Regions from separate parts of the Homo sapiens genome. Here region 2 is linked to region 1. Evidence: promoter capture Hi-C in 16 types of primary human blood cells and fetal thymus (Javierre and others, 2016). All regions are on one chromosome and are shown on one strand. The core of a region is centred on a gene start or on the middle of the fragment in contact, and the rest is flanking DNA. Distances in the headings are between cores, read along the strand shown.

Region 1 (5,251 bases), core at 1,766-4,265:
AAGCATTGCTGCATGGATTTGTGATATTTCAATAATGAGAAATGAGAGGCAAGGTACTTTAATACTTTTTATTATTTAATAGCTCAAGCTTATCACCTTGAAAATTGTAATATATCAGTAACAACCAACATTCAGGTAAGACATCACCACACATTCTTCTCTTCAACAAATAAATGCTAACTTGTGGTTCAAAGTCAAAAGATTTAATTTCTGAGAAGGCATGTTTAAATTCATCATCTAGGGATATTCTGGAAATATGCTATGGATGGAACTTTTATCAACTGTCCAGGAAGAAATGTATTATTACTTCCTAAAAATGTTTGAACAAAAGCTATTACTTTGAATGATGTATTCTCCATAGGTAATTGCTGTTTAGACATCAGAAACTAGCTCACACAGACTCACACTTACACATCTTTGTTTTACTCTTCTTTATAACAAAGACAAATTCAAAAACAAAATAAGATATTCCACCCCCAAAAGGTAGATAATCTTTTTATCTAAAAAAAAAAATCCATTCTGGAAAACTATTTTTATGGCTCCTCAGAACTTAGGATAAAGACTATATCCAATAACGAGGCTTCAAAACCTAAGCCATGTTCCACTGTTTGCAGTTACCTTGGACTTTAACTAGATGTGCAAGTTGACTTCTGACCATGGGGAATCCTCTCCATGACTGGATTATGGATTGTTGAGGCCATGGCAGATAACCAGTTCCACAGAAGCAACTTCATGTTCTTCTGAGGAAGATCCATAGCACTGTGGAACAAGGAATATCAATAAGCGATGACACAAGAGCCTGCAAATGAGGTTAACAAAATATAACCCTCAAAAATGAACTCTGATGGTGGAAAAATCTATGAGGAAAAATATTGTTGAAAAAATACAGGGATTGAAAATGGCTTCAGTTATGTTAAGAGCACTGGTGAACATTTAGTAGCGTTAGAATGTGCTTCTTACGCATGTAATAAACTATCTCTTGATTCCAAGCTCATTAAGTGGCCAAGTTGTATAAATTTGTTTCAAAAACAAACGCTTTTTCAGCATTGCCAGATTTAAAAAAACAACAGCAACTCTGTTTTCTAGAGGGGAAAACACCAAATGAAAATATTCAAATGGTAGTAATAAAATACTTGGCCTTTAATCAGTTCCAGTAAAATTATATTTGAAAGCTTCCCCACCACCCACCCATAGTCATACACATACGCATCAAATTTTAAACATTTTATAATGGCCAAAGAAGGTGTTTACATAGATCTGTTTATTAATGGAACTCACTTTTTAATCAGTTTTTAATAAATTGCTAATCCAGTTTAGCCTCAAATCAGTTCCATCCCTTTTCTCAATCCCTTTTCTGATGTCTAACAGTTAAAGTCCTGTGCCATGAACAGGGATTCCTGTGGCACTTTGGGAATTATCTGCTCTGGGTTTAAAAAAGTGCAGCTTATAAAGTTCTCTCTCTTTTCTTCAGCCTCTACGAAGATTGATAAAGGCATTTCCAGAGGCAAGTGAAATTCTTCCCCTCTCTGCTCGTTCTCCTCCAGGACCTCCTCTTCCTCTTCCAGCTCCTCCTCTTCCAGCTCCTCCTCTCCCTCCTCCACATATTCAGCCTCTTCGACCTCTTCTTCCTCCTCATCTTCGACCTCTTCCTCCTCATCTTCGACCTCTTCTTCCTCCTCGCTCGCCTCCTTTGCATCACACACCTCCTGGTCATACTCCTCCTCATCATCATTTTTCTTCTCCTCCTCTTCTTCCACCAGCAGCGGGGCAAGAGACTGGTTTTCCTCTGGGTTGGGACTGAATGCTAGAGAGGGATTCTGCACAAAGCCATACAGAGTTTCCTGCAGTCCCCAGGTTTCCTTGCTGCCGCCAGGGGGCGCGTCGTTTCCGGAGGATCTGGCTGGGGAGGCCTCGCCGCTCACCGTGGCCTTCTGCGCCCGCAGCGCCTCCTGCTGACGCTCCACCTTCTCCTGCTGCCTCATGTCCTCGTAGATCTGGTTCATGATGAATTGGGTGGTGTTGGGCGGCGCTCGCATGCCAGGCTCTCTCCACTCATACAGCTTGACCGGCCGCGGCAGCGTGCTCACATCCGCTGGCGGGCTCCGCGGGTAGGAGTGGCGAGGGTGGTGGCGCAGGCCGCGGCCTCTGCGGCCCCAGCGCTTCTTCCTGCCTGGGGGCTTCACCCAGCCAGGGTTCCAGGACCCGCTCCAGCAGGAGCAGCAGCAAAAGCAGAGAGGGTGCAGGCCATACACCCGAAACACTTGCACCGGGCAGGGGAATTTCCAGAATCCTGGAGGGGGTGGGCGCCAGGGCCCTCCCCAGCACCCCCAGTTAGAGCACACGGGTGGTTGGAACCAAAAGCCCGGGCCGTGCTGTTGCTTCGGCTGCTTCCTTGGGGGCCCATACTCGGTCTTGGGGCTATATCGGTGCGGTCTATTGTACGCTGGAGCACCCGGGCGCCTTCGATGGCAGGACGACCAGGAGCTCAAGGAGGCCGAGTGTGCCCAGCCACAGCCACAGCCGCCGCCGCCACCGCCGCCCAGGTTCAGAGGGTCTTCCCTTGTGTCGAGGGTCTGAGTCATGGTTCAGGGAGCTCCGAGAGGTCCAGATGGTAGCGACCTGAAGCTGTCGTCAAGTTTTGCCAGGTAGGACGGTCAGAAGAGCCTCGTCTCGTCAACCTGTCTCTCCACGCAGCGCCACGTGTCTACCCCTGGGATCACGTTTTCCTCTCCAGGAGGCTGCTCTCTTCCTGGTTTGCACGCTCTTCGGTAGTAATCGCTTGTCCTTCGCACCTGGGTTGTCTCGCCCAGGTGTGCTGGGTGGGACTGGGGCTGGGTAAGGATGGTGGGGGAGGAAGGTGTTGGCAGGCGACACGCAGTGAGACCCACTCCCGGGTCCCCACCACACCCGGCTCTGCTGAGGCACGGGCTGGGGCCGGGGGAGGCAGGGGTTGCGCAGTTACCTGCTGCTCCCTCTCAACCCAGGTGCTTCACTGTCGCCGTCCTGGCAGGACTGTGGTGGCGAGGGCAGCGGCAGCCTTTAAATACTGGCTGTGGTCTCCCGCGTGCCCACTGCGTTCTTGGTCACCCAGGGCAACAGCCAATTGGGGTCGAAATCGTCCTCCCTGTGTGCAAGGCCGGGTTCTGTCCGGAACCAGGCTCCAGGTGAACATTCGCAGGGGGCTTGTGACGCAGCGTTTGGGGGAGGTGAAGAGGGGTCCAGGCTGGGTTTCTGCTGCTCAATTCAAGCAAGTCTGGAGGCAGTTTATCCGAAAGCTTTGTATCACCTTGAGGCGGGGGTTTAGAAGATGGGCCTTCATCTGAACCCGGTGGGGGCGGGAGAACTTGAGTTTTGAAAACCCCACATTCTACACCTTTGGAGGGCCTAAGGGATCATGGAAAATTACTGGAGAAAGGAAACTTTGCCCAACCTCTTACCTTCTGGCCGGTGCCAACTCTTCTTACTCCTGAGAATTGGGATTCATAATACATAAAACAAGACCACGAACATTTATTATTGCATGTGCTCACTGACAAATAATCCTGTCATCTACCCTGAGAGGTAGGCGTATCTTATCACCTGTCACAGATGAGGGAACTGAGAGCTTAATTTCCCCATGGTTGTGGGGCTAATAAATTTCCAGGCTACGATTTAAGCCTAAACCTGTTTGACCCAAAAGTTAGGTTCCTAATGACATTGCTATGTGTTCTACCAAACCCCCAGTAGGACCCTTGTGATAACTAAATGACATAACATTTGGGAAGGTACTTTGCTATTGGTAATATACCGTACATGTGTACCTCAATTAAACAAATATTATTATTACCATAATGAATACCACAGGTTTGTCCTTGGGAAGAGGAATATTCTGATTGTCTTTCCTTTTGTCCCTTCACTGACCATACAGCATATACACGGGAAGCCTTTAAAGCATTGTGGTTAAGCATATGGGTTTTAATTTAAATAAATGGGATTCAACTTCAACTCACCAATTATTAATCTCTGTAAGCCTCAGTTTCCTTACCCATACCATGATTATACTACCTTTTCCATACGGTTGTGTAAAGAATTAAATGCATATAACAGGTCCTCTAATATTAATGTTTTGCTCAATGTCATTTCCTTATAACGTTGCTGAGGCAAAACAACAACAATAACAAAACCACGTTTCATTATATGTCTTCTCATTTAAAAGTAGCAGTTTCCAAGAACCTATGATGCTAAGTGAGGACTTACTGTAATTCCTTCAAGTACTTAGTGCAGGTACCCTGTAAGTACTCAGTAACTGTTAACTATCATCCTTATTTGTAAATACTTCATGACTTCTAAAAGAGATGATATAGTATATGTAAAGGCACTTGTTCTTGATGCAAAAATAGGCATCCCCACCCTGGCTTGTGTCCTTTTCTTGTCCTTCTTTGTAAAACGTCAAGGAAAGTGCTACCATACTTGGTCCTAGAGAAAACCGTCTCAGTTTATATCCCTTTCTTACTTTTCTGTGCTGAGTGGAATTGCACAAAATGGAAAACTGCCTGCTGGGAACTTCAGTCTATATAAGGCTCCATTAAATGCCAGAAAAGCAAAATGTGTGAAAGCCCTGAAGCTGGCAAAGGTCATTTATGCATTCCTGGCTGAAAATTGAGAACATTATAGGGGGTCTTGGATCAGGACTCCAACATTTGCCCTGAGACCTGTAGAATCCACAGGCTTCATTTAATTTCATTTGCTCTGTGGTTTGCTGAGGACACCCCTGCTTGACTCAAAGTACAGAATGCTGACATGTTTAGCCTGCAGTATCCCTTTCTAGATATGGACTCACCTTTGGCAGTTATTCTGACCCTGCTCTGTGTACTCAAAATGGAATGGTGAGAGCCCAGTTTTATTTTTTTCTAAGGACGTGTGTTATGCAAAAATGGGTTTTAATTGAGAGCATTACAGATGGACCATGTTGCTGTGTTGAAATTCCAATCAGTTTCTTTTTGTTTTAAAAGAGATGGTTAACTCATTTTACAGGTAATTAAGGACATCATTTTTTGATCAGTTGATGTGACCTTTATACAGTTAATCTTGGCATTATATACTTTTTGCATGGTGAGAATATTTATTCTCCCTACTGAACAACATTGACACGTTATTGGCTTGCCCGAATTTTCTTAAGAGAAGCAGCAATTTATTATTTTGATTATGATTTTAATTTTACAGAGATTGGAATTATAATACAAGTTTTGAATGTACTGGTAAATCATCCAAG
Region 2 (5,702 bases), core at 2,703-5,202, 2.8 Mb before region 1:
TTATTAGGTAAGACTGTTGAGCTCAGTTTTATTCATTATTAGCTTCACACATTCTTCCACATTAATTTTATAATTATACTTGTATCTAATCTTGCAATTAGAAAGTACTACAGTATTGAAAACATTGAGATATGTCGTTATTTGTTGCTTAAAACATTTCTTTTCTTTTTCAGTATACTTTGCCATTACTATGTACTACTGCTGGACAGTTTCTCCGTGGAAAGGGTAGCATTCCATTTTCTATGCTGCAGACACTAGTAAAACTCATTGTCTTGATGTTCAGTACATTATTACTTGTTGTGATTAGAGTCCAGGTTATTCAATCCCAACTTCCAGTATTCACCAGGTATGAAATTCTGGTTCTTTGTTTTCTCCATTCTTTTTTTTAACTTTGGATTTTAATGATCATAAATGTTGAAGAAAGTATTTTATTTTGTTTTTTAACAGTTTTATTAAGCTATAATTAACATTTTTTAAACTGCATATATTTAAAATTTATGTACTGATAATTTTTGACATATGTATACACCCTTAAAGCCCCCACAATAAAGATAATGAATGACCCATCCCAAACTGGTTAAGTGTTAAGGTTAGTGTTAATTTAGTCTCCTATATCCTTAGTGATTTTTGTCTACTCATTCTGTCAGTTACTGAGAGATGTTGAAATCTCTGACTATACTTGTAGATTTCGCTATTTCTCCTTGCACTTCTGTCGGTTTTTGTTTTGTGCGTTTTTGAAGCTCTGCTATTAGGTGCGTAAACAACTAGGATTGTCAAGTCATCTTGAGGAACTGATCCCTTTGTCATTATTAAATGAGCTTCATCCCTAGTAATAGTCTTTACTCAGAAATTCACTTTTTCTTATCACAGCTGTCTTTCGTTAGTGTTAGGTGGTGTATCTTTTTCCATCTTTTTACTTTTTACCTGTCTATGCTTTTATTTATAAAGAGGATTTCTTGTAGCATCCATACAATTTGGTCTTCTTTTGTTGTTTGGTCAGATAATCTGACTTTTAGATGGGATATATCATTGATTTATATTTAATTTGATAATTGATATAGTTTGATGGAAATCTTTCATCTTGATAAAATTGTTTTCTCTTTGTCTCATCTAATCTTTGTTCCTTTTTTCTCTCTTTCCACCTTCCTTTGGATTCTTTTTTTAATATTTCATTTTATCTCCTTGTTGGCTTATTAGCTATAAATCTTTGTTGTTTTAGTGTTGCTTTAGGGATTTTAGAACATCCTCTGCTTATCACAGTTTACCTTCAAGGAATATTCTAATTTCGAATATATATATAAAATAAAAATATCAGTGTATATATAGTATAAATATATGTAATATACATTTTATATATGTAAGAACTTAACTTTTGTGCAGTTTGCATATGTTTTCCTTGAACATACATTGCTTTAAACAATTGTCTTGGAGGAATTTAAATAATAAAAAAGTATTTTACATTAACCATGAGTCACCATTTCCAGTGTTCTTTATTCCTTTGTTGGATAAGATTTTTATCTGGTACTATTTTTCCTTTTACCTGAAGGAATTTCTTTAGCACTTCTGATTAAAAATATCAGGTTTTGAAAGATACCTTCTCTGGGTGGAGAATTCTACACTGGCTTTTTCATTCAGTATTCTGAAAATGTAAATCTACTGTCTTCCGGCTTTTATTGTTTTCAGTGGGAAAACCTCTATCATCCTTATCTCTTTATGCTAATGTATGTTATGTGTATTTTTTCTATGCCTGTTTTTAATATTTCCTGTTTACCATTGTTTCTTATGTATTTATGTTTCTTGTGCTTAGGTAAACTGAGCTTCTTGAAATCTGTAGATTTTAATTTTGTAAAAATTTTGGAAAATGTTTAGCTAGTCTTCAAATATTTTTGCCATCTTTTCTTTTTCCTATTTTTCTTGTATGTCAGTTAAGTATATTTAAGTTTCTTGAAGTTGTTGCACTGATGCTCTGTTTTTTTCCCTCAATCTTTTACCATTTTTAGTTTGGATAGTTTCTTTTGCTATATCAAGTTCACTAATCTTTTTTCTGCAATATCTAATCTACTCTTAATTTCATCTAGTTGTTTCTTACCTCTGAATCTGTTTTCATCTTCAGAAGGAAGTCTGATTTGAGTATTCTTTTATATCTTCTATATCTCTACATGTTCTATTGCTTTAATGTCCTTGCCTACTAATTCTATCATCTGTGTCATTCCTTGGTCAGTTTTTATTGAATAAATTTTCTCTTCATTATAGGTTGTATTTCTCTGCTTCTTTGCATGTCGGGAAATTGTTGAACAGATACCATTTGTGAATTTTACCTTAATGTATTCTATAAATTTTGAGTTTTATTCTGGAATGCATTTAAGTTACTTGGAAAATGTTTTATCTTTCAGTCTTGCTTTTTTTCTTTCTTCTTTTTTTTTTTGAGATTAGAGTTTCGCTTTTGTTGCCCAGGGCTGGAGTGCAATGGCGCAATCTCGGCTCACCGCAACCTCCACCTCCCAGGTTTAAACGATTCTCCTGCCTCAGCCTACTGAGTAGCTGAGACTACAGGCATGCGCCACCACGCCCAGCTGATTTTTGTATTTTTAGTAGAGATAGGGTTTCTCCATATTGGTCAGGCTGATCTTGAACTCCTGACCTGAGGTGATCCGCCCACCTCAGCCTCCCAAAGTGCTGAGATTACAGGCATGAGCCACTGCACCCAGCCCAGTCTTGCTTTTAAGCTTTGTTTTGTGGGACCACAATAGCATTTAGGATAAGACTAATTTCACTTCACTACTGATGCAAGATCTTTTTGACTATTGGATGTGAACTGTAAATTACGAAGATTTCCACACTGTCTGCCGAGGAACTATTCCTGGCTCGGTATATTTGGGAATTTTTAGCTCTAATGCATTCAGGAGGTTTTTGCCTGATTGTATTAGTTTTCTGAAGGCTGCTGTAACAAATAACTACAAACTGAATAGCTTAAAATAACAGAAATTTGTTCCCTCACAGTTCAAGAGGCCAGAAATACCAAATCAGTATGTCAGCACAATTGGTTCCTTCTGGAGGCTCTAAGGAAGAATTTGTTCCATAACTGTCTGCTGGTTTCTGGTGGTTGCTAGCAGTCTTTGGCATTCCTTGGCTTGTAACTCCATCACTTCAATCTACTTTGTCTTCACATTGCCTTCTTTTCCAGTGTATCTCTTTCTTCTCTTTTTATGAGGACCCCAGTCGTTGGATTTAGGGCCCACCCTAACCCAGTGTGACCTCATCTTAACTAATATTGGCAGAAACTATTTTCAAATAACACCACATTCTGAAGTTAGGGTAGACATGAATTTTTTAGAAATATGATTCAACCCACTACACCGACCATGGGTATTTCCTCACATATATGTGCTGATTTGAACTCATCAAAATCAGGCCAGGTGTGGTGGCTCACGCCTGTAATCCCAGCACTTTGAGAGGCTGAGGTGATCACTTGAGGTCAGGAGTTTGAGACCAGCCTGGCCAACATGGGGAAACCTCATCTCTACTAAAAATAGAAAAATTAGCCAGCGTGGTGGTGCACGACTGATCCCACCTACTCGGGAGGCTGAGGCACAAGAATCGTTTGAACCTGGGAGGCAGAGGTTGCAGTGAGCCAAGACTGTGCCATGGCATTCCAGCCTGGGTGACAAAGCAAGACTTTGTCTCAAAAAAAAAAAAAAAAAAAAAAGAACTCATCAATATTGAAAACTGGAGAGAGACCCTCTACAGATGTCTCAGGTTCTCTTTCTCAGCAGCTTTCTTCTGTCTGGATTCTTCCTCACTAATTCTAGCCCCCGCACTCCTAGGGCTCCCAACTTCATACTCTCAATTCAGTATACCACTGGGCTCAGCCTGGGTTCCCTCTTGCTGTTTTACTGACTAAAAACTCTATCCAGGTACTAAACTCTTTCCAGAAAAAGCTCCCCTTATTTGTTTTTCTTCTCTCAGGTATTACAGTCCTTTTTCACCTTATGCTCAGTATGTTTAAAAAAAAATTATACCTCTTATACAGTTTTTTAGTTGTTTAAGGCTAGAAAGCAGAAGATATAGTGAATTTTAAGTCTGCATATCATATTTATCTACTTTAACATTTAGCCTTTTTTCATTTCACCTGACTTGGCTAAAATTTAAAATGAAATTTATACTATTTCCCTGTTCAATTTTAAGTTATTGCCATTACATGCAAGAACTTTTATTTTTAACAAAAGGCCAACATGTTATTCACATTATGTTACATGATCGTGCATTGCTGGCGCTGGGTAGAATAAATTTTATTCAGATAATTTTTAAACCCAAAACTGTGTGATATTTTCACATAACTATCCTCCCTAGCATTTTTTTTTCTTTAAAGAATAATTACTTGTTAATATCCTGGATTTTTATCTCTGAGTCTAGCCGTGCTAAAATGAACTTGTGCAGATATTACAGTATTGGAAATAGAGAAGATTGAATTGTTTATATAAGACTTCGGATTTCCTTCTTAGTTTCATTGGTTTTCTGTTATTCCTTTTAGAGAATTTGAATCAACTATTTTCTATTTCCCTATCTACAGTCTAAAAATATAGTTTATAGGTGTGAATTTATGTATGTGTTAGTAGGTATGAATATGGTGCTTATAGCATATAAATATTTTCCAAATAAAGCATTTCAACATTGTGTATATATGTTTGTGTATGTGTGTATAAATTCTATTACCCTCTGAAGTTGGATTTAATATAATTTGATTTATTTTGACATTAACTCTTTCTTTAAATCAGCTATCCTAAATAAACTGTAATTTTTAAAACTAAATTCCGAATAGTGAATTATAGGCAAAAAGATAACTTTTTATTCAGTTCTGCTGGTTATTTTGAGAATTCAAGTTCAGACTCAAGATTTATTATTTTATCTGAAAAATAATATGTAAGTTGTGAGATTCCGTATGAAAATTTTGAAATGATATTATTTGTTCAAATAGTATTTATTTTTATCAAATATTTGATATGTTTTCAGAAAATCAAGTCAAATAAGTGGCAGTAGTTGATTTTCCTTGGCTTACTCATCTTAAAATGAGAAAATGGGTCTTTTAAGTACTATATATTATAACCAATATAATTTAGAACACAGACTAAACTAATGAAATGTATATATGTTGTGGCCTGGGAAAAGATAAACTATGATATAAGCTTATATTAGTATTTACTAAGAGAGAAAGTAGAACACAAATTCTTACACAGGCCTACACAGTTACTACTTTGTACTAGAAATTTGGTTTTTAGCTTCCTAGGAGTCAAAGAAAAGAGGGAAGGAAGCTAGGTGATATGGTTTTCTCTCTCCATGACAGAAGAAAAATATACGAATTTTTTCCAGGAAGCATAATTTTTAATTAGCATTTAGCTCTAAAAGAAATGTCTCATGTAGGAAAGCATTGGTGAGTGTTTTCAAAAGTGATTCATACAACACATACAACCATAAATCTTATACAACTTTTTGTTACTACTTTTAATCAAAAGGTTTAATGGAACACTTTTGCAGTGTTGTAATATTATAGGATGCATGTCTGAATTATTCTAATAATAAACAGAAATGGATGACCTGCTTGCCTTTCAAACAGTCCTTCATAAATATCACTTCTCTGAAGTAGATGTTTCATAAAGTTTTGATAGTTTGAACTCTAGCAAGAGTCTGAGGTACACATAACATTT

The links. The method cuts DNA at HindIII sites, captures the fragments that hold promoters and counts their contacts. A CHiCAGO score of 5 or more calls a contact.
Region 2: a contact is called between a fragment that was not itself captured here and the fragment with the promoter of CCER1 in region 1, in 1 of 17 cell types (M2 macrophages). The highest score is 5.6, in M2 macrophages.

The regions. Positions count from the first base shown.
Region 1 is chr12:90,952,161-90,957,411 of GRCh38, forward strand. CCER1 (coiled-coil glutamate rich protein 1) reads right to left here and starts at 3,016. Exons shown (of 1, transcript NM_152638.4): 1 at 55-3,016. The coding sequence starts at 2,582. The coding sequence ends at 1,362. RefSeq lists an enhancer at 1,925-2,024. The HindIII fragment of the contact is 2,103 bases long and covers 1,171-3,273 here.
Region 2 is chr12:88,160,506-88,166,207 of GRCh38, forward strand. TMTC3 (transmembrane O-mannosyltransferase targeting cadherins 3) reads left to right here. Exons shown (of 14, transcript NM_181783.4): 6 at 174-346. Among named protein-coding and RNA genes, the nearest start is that of TMTC3, 21 kb to the left of the region's middle. The HindIII fragment of the contact is 2,457 bases long and covers 2,725-5,181 here.